Regions from separate parts of the Homo sapiens genome. Here regions 2 and 3 are each linked to region 1. The links are contacts of gene promoters, found by promoter capture Hi-C in blood cells and fetal thymus (Javierre and others, 2016). All regions are on one chromosome and are shown on one strand. The core of a region is centred on a gene start or on the middle of the fragment in contact, and the rest is flanking DNA. Distances in the headings are between cores, read along the strand shown. Region 1 holds the start of HEY2 (hes related family bHLH transcription factor with YRPW motif 2). Region 2 has its middle 180 kb from the start of HDDC2. Region 3 overlaps TRMT11 (tRNA methyltransferase 11).

What was found. The method cuts DNA at HindIII sites, captures the fragments that hold promoters and counts their contacts. A CHiCAGO score of 5 or more calls a contact.
Region 2: a fragment that was not itself captured here is called in contact with the fragment with the promoter of HEY2 in region 1 in 1 of 17 cell types (megakaryocytes); the score reaches 5.4 in megakaryocytes.
Region 3: a fragment that was not itself captured here is called in contact with the fragment with the promoter of HEY2 in region 1 in 1 of 17 cell types (activated CD4 T cells); the score reaches 5.3 in activated CD4 T cells.

Annotation. Positions count from the first base shown.
Region 1 is chr6:125,748,052-125,751,041 of GRCh38, forward strand. HEY2 (hes related family bHLH transcription factor with YRPW motif 2) reads left to right here and starts at 1,581. Exons shown (of 5, transcript NM_012259.3): 1 at 1,581-1,808. The coding sequence starts at 1,726. HEY2-AS1 (HEY2 antisense RNA 1) reads right to left here and starts at 1,374. Exons shown (of 5, transcript NR_183491.1): 1 at 908-1,374. RefSeq lists a silencer at 1,090-1,799. The HindIII fragment of the contact is 5,509 bases long and covers 1-2,990 here.
Region 2 is chr6:125,477,795-125,480,784 of GRCh38, forward strand. No RefSeq gene overlaps it. Among named protein-coding and RNA genes, the nearest start is that of HDDC2, 180 kb to the left of the region's middle. The HindIII fragment of the contact is 1,940 bases long and covers 406-2,345 here.
Region 3 is chr6:126,016,923-126,019,912 of GRCh38, forward strand. The region is part of intron 11 of TRMT11 (tRNA methyltransferase 11); the gene reads left to right. Among named protein-coding and RNA genes, the nearest start is that of TRMT11, 32 kb to the left of the region's middle. The HindIII fragment of the contact is 2,288 bases long and covers 440-2,727 here.

The DNA.
Region 1 (2,990 bases), core at 331-2,830:
ATTGAAGGCATGGCGGTGGGGACCGCGCAAAAGAGATGAGAGTGTGGGGGGAAAGGGGTTTCTGTTCTAATAAGGGCTTAGCACGCTGGCCGCAGGTCCTCCGCGCCGACCGGGCTCCTTCCCGCTCTCCCCCGGGCCAAACCCCGCCAGGGTCCCGTCTTTCCCAGTCGCGTCCTTTCCTCTTCTCCCCGCCCCGCGCCGGGCTTGTGTGGACAGAGAACGGAGTGTCAAAGGGACGCCCTGGGCCGATCCCCAGGAAGCTATGAATCCCTCCGTGACGGAGGGGTCTGGGGATCGATAGACGGCCCTTTCTCAGAGGCTCTCTCCACTACTGACCAAGCGGCCCTGCCAACGTGTGGTTTCCGGCTGGACCCCAACCCAGCCGCCGCCAGTCTCCCGGCGCCCCTGGCTGGGTCTCGCTCAGTCCCTGCCCTCGCAGACGCACAGCGGGGTGGCCAGTTCAAAAGTCCTACATAACTTGGAGAGAACCAGCAGCTAGAAAACCTGTTTTAAACACACAGCTTGAGTTTTATACAACCCACGTTGTCCAAGGCACGAACTGTTGGACACGAATTCATACTTTAGAAACCAAATCTAATTTCCAAGCGCCAATCTTCACCTCCCGGACTCTAACTCTGCGGCTGCGAGTGCATACACCAGGGGGACTGGAGGAGACTGGAGGCAATTATCTGGATAATCCAAGCCCGAAAAACTCGAACTTGAAAATATACGATTATGTCCTGAAATGCCCGCGTCATTGATCTAGTCTTTCCTACCATCAGAGCTGACACAGCTCCAGTCCACGGGCTTCTCCGCGGGGTCTAGGATCCACAGTCCCTGGGGGCTGAAGACCCAATGGAAGTAACTGATGGATCGCAAATTGGAAATCGTAACGTGGCCGACAGACCTGATCAGGAAAACTCGCGTCCTTATATGAAACAGCCCCGAGGCCGCGAAAGTAGCCTCAGGAGTTGTCAGATTCAAAAGCAATTTTGATTTAAGGTTTTCAAAAGCCCCAGAGGGCAAATGTGACCACTCGGGTCAGCCAGTCAGCAGTTTGGATCCAGACAGGGGACCACCGAGTGGGGCGGCCGAGGAGCCGCGGCGCCTCCCGACGTCACACGCGCCTGCTCGCACTTAGCCACGCGCTTGGGGTTATTCTTTACACTCAGGACTGAAACTTCGCCCGCGAGACCGCGGGGCGCGGAGGAGGGCCGAAACCCAAGGTCCAGGTCCAGGGCCCGCCCCCGCGCGCCCGCGTTGGCGCCCGCGCGCTCCCTCCGCAGGGGTTAGCAAGATTGCGCTCATTCTCGCCCCGGCTGCTCCCCACCCGCTCGCTGCTCTGGGGTACCAGGTCCGCGGCCGCGTTCCCACGCCTCGGCTGGAGCCTTGCGGCGGGCATTGGCGAGCGCGGCCCCGCCCCCTGGCCCAGCCAATCGCGAGCCACGCCGACCAGCGAGGGGGAGGTGCCGGGCGGAAGGCCTGGGCCGGTGCGCGGGGGCGGGTGAGGTGGCCCCACCCGCTCGAGGGGGGGGCGTGGCCGGCGCCGGCTCTTGCGGCCGAGCAGAGTTGCGGCGTGGGAAAGAGCCGCTAGGAGCAGACCGCGCCGCCGCCGGAGCCGCGCCTGCCCAGGCCCGGGGAGGGAGGAGGCGGGCGTCAGGGTGCTGCGCCCCGCTCGGCGTCCGAGCTTCCGGCCGGGCTGTGCCCCGCGCGGTCTTCGCCGGGATGAAGCGCCCCTGCGAGGAGACGACCTCCGAGAGCGACATGGACGAGACCATCGACGTGGGGAGCGAGAACAATTACTCGGGGTGAGCGCGGGCTCCGCGGGAGCGGCCCGCAGCTCGGGAGCTTGGGGTAGCTTTGTGAATGCGTGGCTCCCTGGAAATCCCGAGGCTGGTCTCCGCAGCATCTAGGTAGAGAGGGAAAGTTTGGCCTGAGAAAGTTTGAGTGGTGGGCGCTCGCAGAGCGTGAGTTGGGATGGGGCAAGGGATGTGGATTTTCACCGTAGGGGTGGAGTAGCCAGGATGGGAGACGCCACTGAAAGGCAGAGCGCAGGAGTTGGCGAGGGAGGGTCCTGGCTGTCACAGTTGGACGCGCGAACGGCAGCGTCTGGGCGACAGGCGATGTCCCAGCCACTGAAACCGTATTTGGGGGCACTTTCAAAATAGATCAGGAGAAAATAAAAACAATTTGATTTTTGATTTTTAGAGATACCAAAATCACAACTTGATTTTTGGAGGAATTAAAGCAACCTGCGATGTCAAGGCTACGTAGGTTGAACTTTGCAGGTTGACCGTGTGTGACTTGGCTAACGCAAGAGTGAGTGACAGATGTAAGCATCGGAAAGGGCATCATTTCTTTGACTGCTTGTTCTCAAGTCTGGAAGAGATCGGCGTCGTAATCACAGAAGCCAGACCTCCACTTTCCTGTGACAGAGGGAGATTACCGAGGCATTTTAGAGCCAAGGCGGGTCAAATGATAATTGCTTCTAATTGGCATCCCCAGAAGCACCTTAATTATTTATCTGCAGCTGTCACTCAAAGAGGGAAATTCTTCCTACCTTTGGAAAACTGGTTTTCTTTCATATTGTTATTCTAATACATACAAAGCAAAGCACAAAATCTGCAAGAGCAAAGATATTTACACGAAAGCAAAGGTTTAAGTATCTGATCATTAAAGTGTTGTTGTGCCGTCTTTAAAAATGAGGTCTGAAAAACAGAAGCTATCACGTGAAAGGTGAAACCCGTAAAGAAGGGGTGAAAATGAGGGGGACAGGTAATTCAGAAATAAGATCCAGAAGTGAGAAGGTGAGGTAATAGCAACCTGGTGTGTGCAGCATTTCTAAAATGAAAGAGAACAAATAACAGGAACCTGGGGAATTTGAGAACACAAAGAAGCATAGTATCCATGAATTATGAAGAGAAACAGATACAAACTAGAAAGGATTGTAAAAATTATGTGACCAAATAATACTTTGATTGAACCTTCAA
Region 2 (2,990 bases), core at 126-2,625, 270 kb before region 1:
AGGAAACAACAGTATGAATGTCTGAGTCAGGGATGTGTTTGGAGCATTTGGAGAATAGCAAGGATGCCTGAGGCTGGAGCACAGTGAGGAAGACAGTGACTTGTAGGGAGAAAGATCAGAGGAGTAGCTGGGGCCAAGTTGGGTAGGGCCAAATAAATCTTTGTAAGGATGTTGGTTTTTAGTTTAATGAAATGAGAAGCCACTAGGGGATTTTTAGCTGAAGAGTGGCGTGATCTGACTCAACTTGTTGAAAAAAACACTCTGGTTGCTGTGTGGGGAATGTTTGGAAGCTGGCAAGTTAGTTAGGAACCACTGTGTAATCTAGGCAAGGGATGATAGTGGCTTAGAATGGGGTGGTGTTGGAAGAGGTGATGAGATGGTGTCAGGCTCTGAACGTCTTTCGAAAGCTTGACAGGATTTGCTGATAGTCAATAGGCAGTGTGAGAGAGAGACACAGTCAGGGATAACACTGCGATTTTTAGCCAGAGAGCTGGAAGTTTGAATTTACAACTTACTAAGACGGGAAGACAGTGGTGAGTAGGTCTATAAGGTAGAGGGAGAAACAAGAGCTCCATTTTGGACATATTGAGTATGAAGTGCCTATCTACATCCATATCAGGGAGAGTGGGCATTTGGATAGATAAGCCCAGAGTTCAGTTGCAGAGTCTGAGTTGGATATGGGAACATGGGGTCTTTAGCATCTGGACACCTTTAAAGCAATAGGAGCAGATGAAATCACCCAGAGAGTAAGGTCAGACAGAGAAGAGGAGATGTCTGAGCATTTTTCTGTTTCTATTTCTAAAATTCCATCTAGTTTTTAAGAAAATAACCTTCAGGGAGCCATTATCATGTACTTAGAGACTCCTCCATCTGGTATAAGACTTCTACCACACTGGCACAACCCAAGTCCCCAACCTTATGTCTCCTTCCTCCTTACTTGTTAAAGTATGCTCCAAACAGATATCACTGACCATTTCCTGAATCTTACCTTACACTTCCCTGCCTTTACACCATTATATGTCTTATTTTATTCACCAGGACAGGTCACCCAAATTTTGGCCTATGAGATACCACCATTCTCCCAAGGCCCAGTTGAAATCCTATGTCCATGATGGAGTGACTCCTATTCTAGCATAACCAAATCTGACCTCCTGCTCTTTCTTAGTAACCACTCTATTCATTTGTACCCATGGCAGATGCAGTTTAGATTACTTGGCACTCACCCTAGCCCTCTTCTGAGCTACTTTTTTGTACTGAAGAAGCTGGAAGACTAAAAAACTCCTTCTCACCTATAGGGTTTCCACCTATGATCTAGGTTCCTTGAGTGAGCGCTGGGGCTCACATCAGACTTGGAAGGCAGAAGTGGCCACTGTAAAGTAACATCTACACTCAGGGAATTTGGATATTATGGCAGAGGAATTTTATTCTCTGGAGGCATTGGGTAGAGTCCCTAGGGTCTTACTTAGGTGTTGCATGGGGGACAGTAGAGGCCACAACAGTGTGGTTTCACTAAATGGTTTTGCAGTCTTCTTGCGCATTTCTTCTGGCTGTGCAGCACCCAACCTGGTTTCCCTGGTCTGTCTAGAAATTCTGTAAGTGACTTAATATTCTTTCATAACCCCTTTACTACTCAAAGTCAATAGATTAGATTCTGATATTTGCAATTAAACCTCCTGACCGATAAAATACCTTTCTTAAATATAGTATAGCATCTTGCTTTGCTGTATAACATGTTTTACTGCATTTTTATTATTTTCTCTACTAGGTTGTATAATAACTCTTTTTAAGATAGGCAATAACTGTATCAAACTCCCCCCCTTGTGTACAGTACAGCACCTAACTGTGTGTGAGGAGTCCCAGCAAAGTCACAGAAATGCTGCAAAGTACTTTAACACAGTGACATCTGTTGAACACTGAACAAACTACTACTATTGGCTCATTTGGACCTATCTACTTAATAAAGGGTATTGTTTACTCACATTGTAAAAAAATCACTGTGCCCTCAGTAATCAAGAAAATTTCATACAACACCTCTGTTCTAGATGCGTAATACAAATATACGTGCGTCTCATCTGTACTTAGATGAGACTCGGGAAGTACAGTCCTTTGGAGTTCAGGAATAAAGGGAAACTTGGCCCATATGGATACCAGTTAAGGCAGGGAGGACTGAAAAATAGGACTTTATTTGGACTTAAACTAGGTAGCATCCCAAATGTGATTTTTAAATTTTGATTGAAAATTATGGGAAATGCCCCAATGCCCACAGAGGCCACGCAGAGGATCTGTACATCACTGACTGTGCATCACTAACACTCTTATAGTAGCTCTTCTGAAGTCTCCTTGTAAGCTTCCTCTTTATTTCTTATGCCTCTACATTGCAGCATTCTATTGGCTAAAATGAAGCAAATGAACCCACGAGGAGGTCAAATATAGGCAGACAGCCTAGCTAAGGCTATGATGGAGATGAAAGGCTGTATTCTGATTGTTGGCATGCCAGCTTATATCTTCTGCCAAATTATATTTATACAGCTGAGAGGAGTATGTTAGTTTCGTGTTCCTTCCACCCAGGAGTCAGAGCCATTTTCTCAAGAGAAGGATCCTAAATGGAATGCATATGTTTTACAATACCCAAATGAGCTTCCCATCCTCAGATCCTTGAGCCCCTAAATACCACTGCTTCAGCTAAGCTGGTAGGCTCCTTTCTGGCCAGAACTCTGATTAGAATCCAAATTTTACATGATTGTACTTCAGAATCAGATTTGAACCATGTTGGGGTTTTGTAGTGTGTGAATTCAACTCATCATGGTTACTGAGGTTTAGGATTCATCTGAAAGAGCTAGAGTTAGTGTGAGGAGACATTTTATCAGACAGTTTTCAACTCTGCCAAGTTTTCCCAAGAGCTCAGAAACTGTGGTCCAAACCTGGGACCTCTTCCACCAAAAGCAGCAATTAGGCAGCTGAAACTCAACCCACCAAGTCAACTTGGATTT
Region 3 (2,990 bases), core at 334-2,833, 270 kb after region 1:
GTCTTGAGTTTATGCTAGAAACATGAACTGTTTTCATATTCAAGGTCTTTACTCTTTTGAAAATTCTTTACTGTTTTGAAAATAACACAGTATCAAGATGAATTTGAGTCTAAAGTCATCTGTAAAAGTTTGAAATAATATTCATTTGAATTAAACAGTTTAGAATAGTTTAACTATGTTATATTGAAAATGTAGCTTTATATTGGACCGGGAATAAAAAGGAATTCAATTTACAATTGTACCTTAGTGTAGCTTAATTTTAAGTCTTTTGTATTTTTGGTGTGGTGAATGTAGGCTATTAGTTCTATTAATGAATTAATTTACTCTCAGCCAAACCCTGTTATATGATTCAAGTTACACATTATAACCAAGTTCAGGTATTATTTTAACCCAGGATTGATTGAAAAGTATAAGACATAAAAGCAAAATACTGCGTAAAAGCTTAGTTGTATATGGAAAATTGTGAGAGCTAATGATTGAAAAGGATTTTCTCACTGTTTGACAATTTAAATTGCAGTAAAGAAACTGCTACTCAGAAACTTCTGCTGTTCTTTTTCCTTCTAGTCTACACTCTCCCCACTCCAGTATATCAGACTTTTTGCCAGCATCAAGATACTCTGTGCATTTTATGTCTTTTCACTTTTGTTTATTCTGTCCCCATTGTTTGAGATGCCCTTTCTTCTTTCCTCAACTGGTAAAAATCTAGTCATTTTTCTAGGCCTGGCTTAATTGTCACCACTTCTGTGACACTTTCTCAGATACTTCTCAGCAGAATTAATCAGTCCATCCTCTGTGCTCTCATAATAGCTTGTTTTTACTGCTTATAGAGACTTAACACATAAAATTACTGTAGACTGTTGGTATTTGTGAGTTTATTATTTACAATTTTGACTACTTACAAATGACCCAGATTATGTGTTGCAATCATGTGTACAGGGCATCAATCCAGTGTGTACACATACAATCCAGGTGTTTGATGTCATAGGAGCCAGTGTGCTACTGAGTGAGTGTAGCTGTTTGCCCAGGCTCCATATATCCATTTAGCTTTATCTAATTTCATTGTACACAGATAACTCTTGAAGTGATTAGAAACAGTGTTTCTTTATAAATGATGACCTTTATAGAAATCCAGCTGCTAGTGTTAGTGATAACATGATGACATACTTATATTAAAATAGCACATTGTACCCCCCAAATATGTACAATTATAATTCATTAATTAAAAATTTTTAAAAAGGTGAGAAAGAAGCTAATAATGTGCCCCAAAGTAGGACTTGGAAATAAATTTTGATTGTAGTAAGGTGAACTTTGCAGTGCCTATAATGAGTGAAGAGAACATGTTTTTCATCTCTTACTTAGGAAAGAGGAAAAAGTGATTTTTAAGCTGTTTTTAGTAAATGTTCAATCAATGCAAAATCTGTTTCTCAAATGGGAGCTGAAATTCTAGTGACATTTGGGAAGTAGTTGAAGCAGGAAGATTCACAGGAAAATGAGTGACAGTCAAAATTGATTCGTGGAAAATCTAGGGGCCTATGTACACAATTATTTTTTTTTAATTGACATAGAATTTGTATACCATGAAATTCACCCCCTTAACGTATACAACTTCATGGTTTTTAGTTTATCCACAAAGTTGTGTGACCATCACCACTAGGTAATTCCAGAACATTTTCCTCACCCCCGAGAAGTACCCCACAGACATTAGTAGTTACCACCCCCCTATCTCTGTCAACCACTTGTCAATCTCTGTGGATTTGCCTATTAAGGATGATTTAGTTTTTAAATAGATAACTTGGATTGTAGGGGGATATTAATAAAAACAGGGAATTAAGATGGGATTTAGTACTGTCATAATGGTCCAGGCAAAATATAGATTTATGCCTTCTACTTAACCACTTGCGAACATTCCATTGGAATGAAATATATTGGTAAATATACAGTGAATAATTTTATTTTACTTTATTTTATTTTTTTTTTGAGACAATTTCGCTCTTGTTGCCCAGGCTGGAGTGCAGTGGCGTGATCTCGGCTCACTACAACCTCCACCTCCCAGGTTTGAGCGATTCTCCTGCCTCAGCCTCCCAAGTAGCTGGGATTACAGGCATGTGCCACCATGCCTGGCTAATTTTGTATTTTTAGCAGAGACGGGGTTTCACCATTTTGGCCAGGCTGGTCTTGAACTCCTGACCTCAGGTGATCCACCTGCCTTGGCCTCCCAAAGCACTAGGATTACAGGCGTGAGCCACCACGCCCAGCTGAAGAATTTTTTAACTGCTATTTTTTAATCTTTTTAGTATGGTGCTTTGGGAGTGTATTGTTAAATTAATTGGCTCATTAATATAATAGATTAATTGTTAAAAATGAATTAAGATCGAGTCAAAAAAGATAATATGAAACATGCAAATATGTTTTTCTGCTGTTAAAACCAAATGCAGCAACTTAGTTTAGCAGTTTAGCGTCATTCATGTCATAGATGTTAATTAAAATTGTGTTGGTACCTTGGATTTGATTGATAAATTTGCTTTTTGGGTTTTATAGTTATATTAGGGATCTAAACATGAAGAGTTTATATCTAATTTATGCTTGTGCATATTTAAGTGACACCTTAATAAAAAAATACTTTAAGTCAGTCCACCAGGAAGTAAAAAATTTTTTTCCTTTAAAAATTAGTATATTACTTAGTTTGACACAAACTGTTTCCAGCATCTATAGATCCTACGGTTTGCAAGCTTAAGGTTAAGGCTATATCTTCTCTCTGTTAGCACTTTTTATTTTAGTCTCAACCATGGTGTAGAATATATTCTTTCTACTGTACTCCAGCCTCGGCAACAGAGCAAGATCCGTTCTCTGAAAAAGTAAAAAAAGAATTTATTCTTTCATGTCATAAATGCATTGCATGAAGATTCAAAATTTGATGTCATTGTTATAAGAAGTACAACATTTCTGGCTATGTAGTGAACATTAAAGAATTACTAGATGAGGTGAAATCT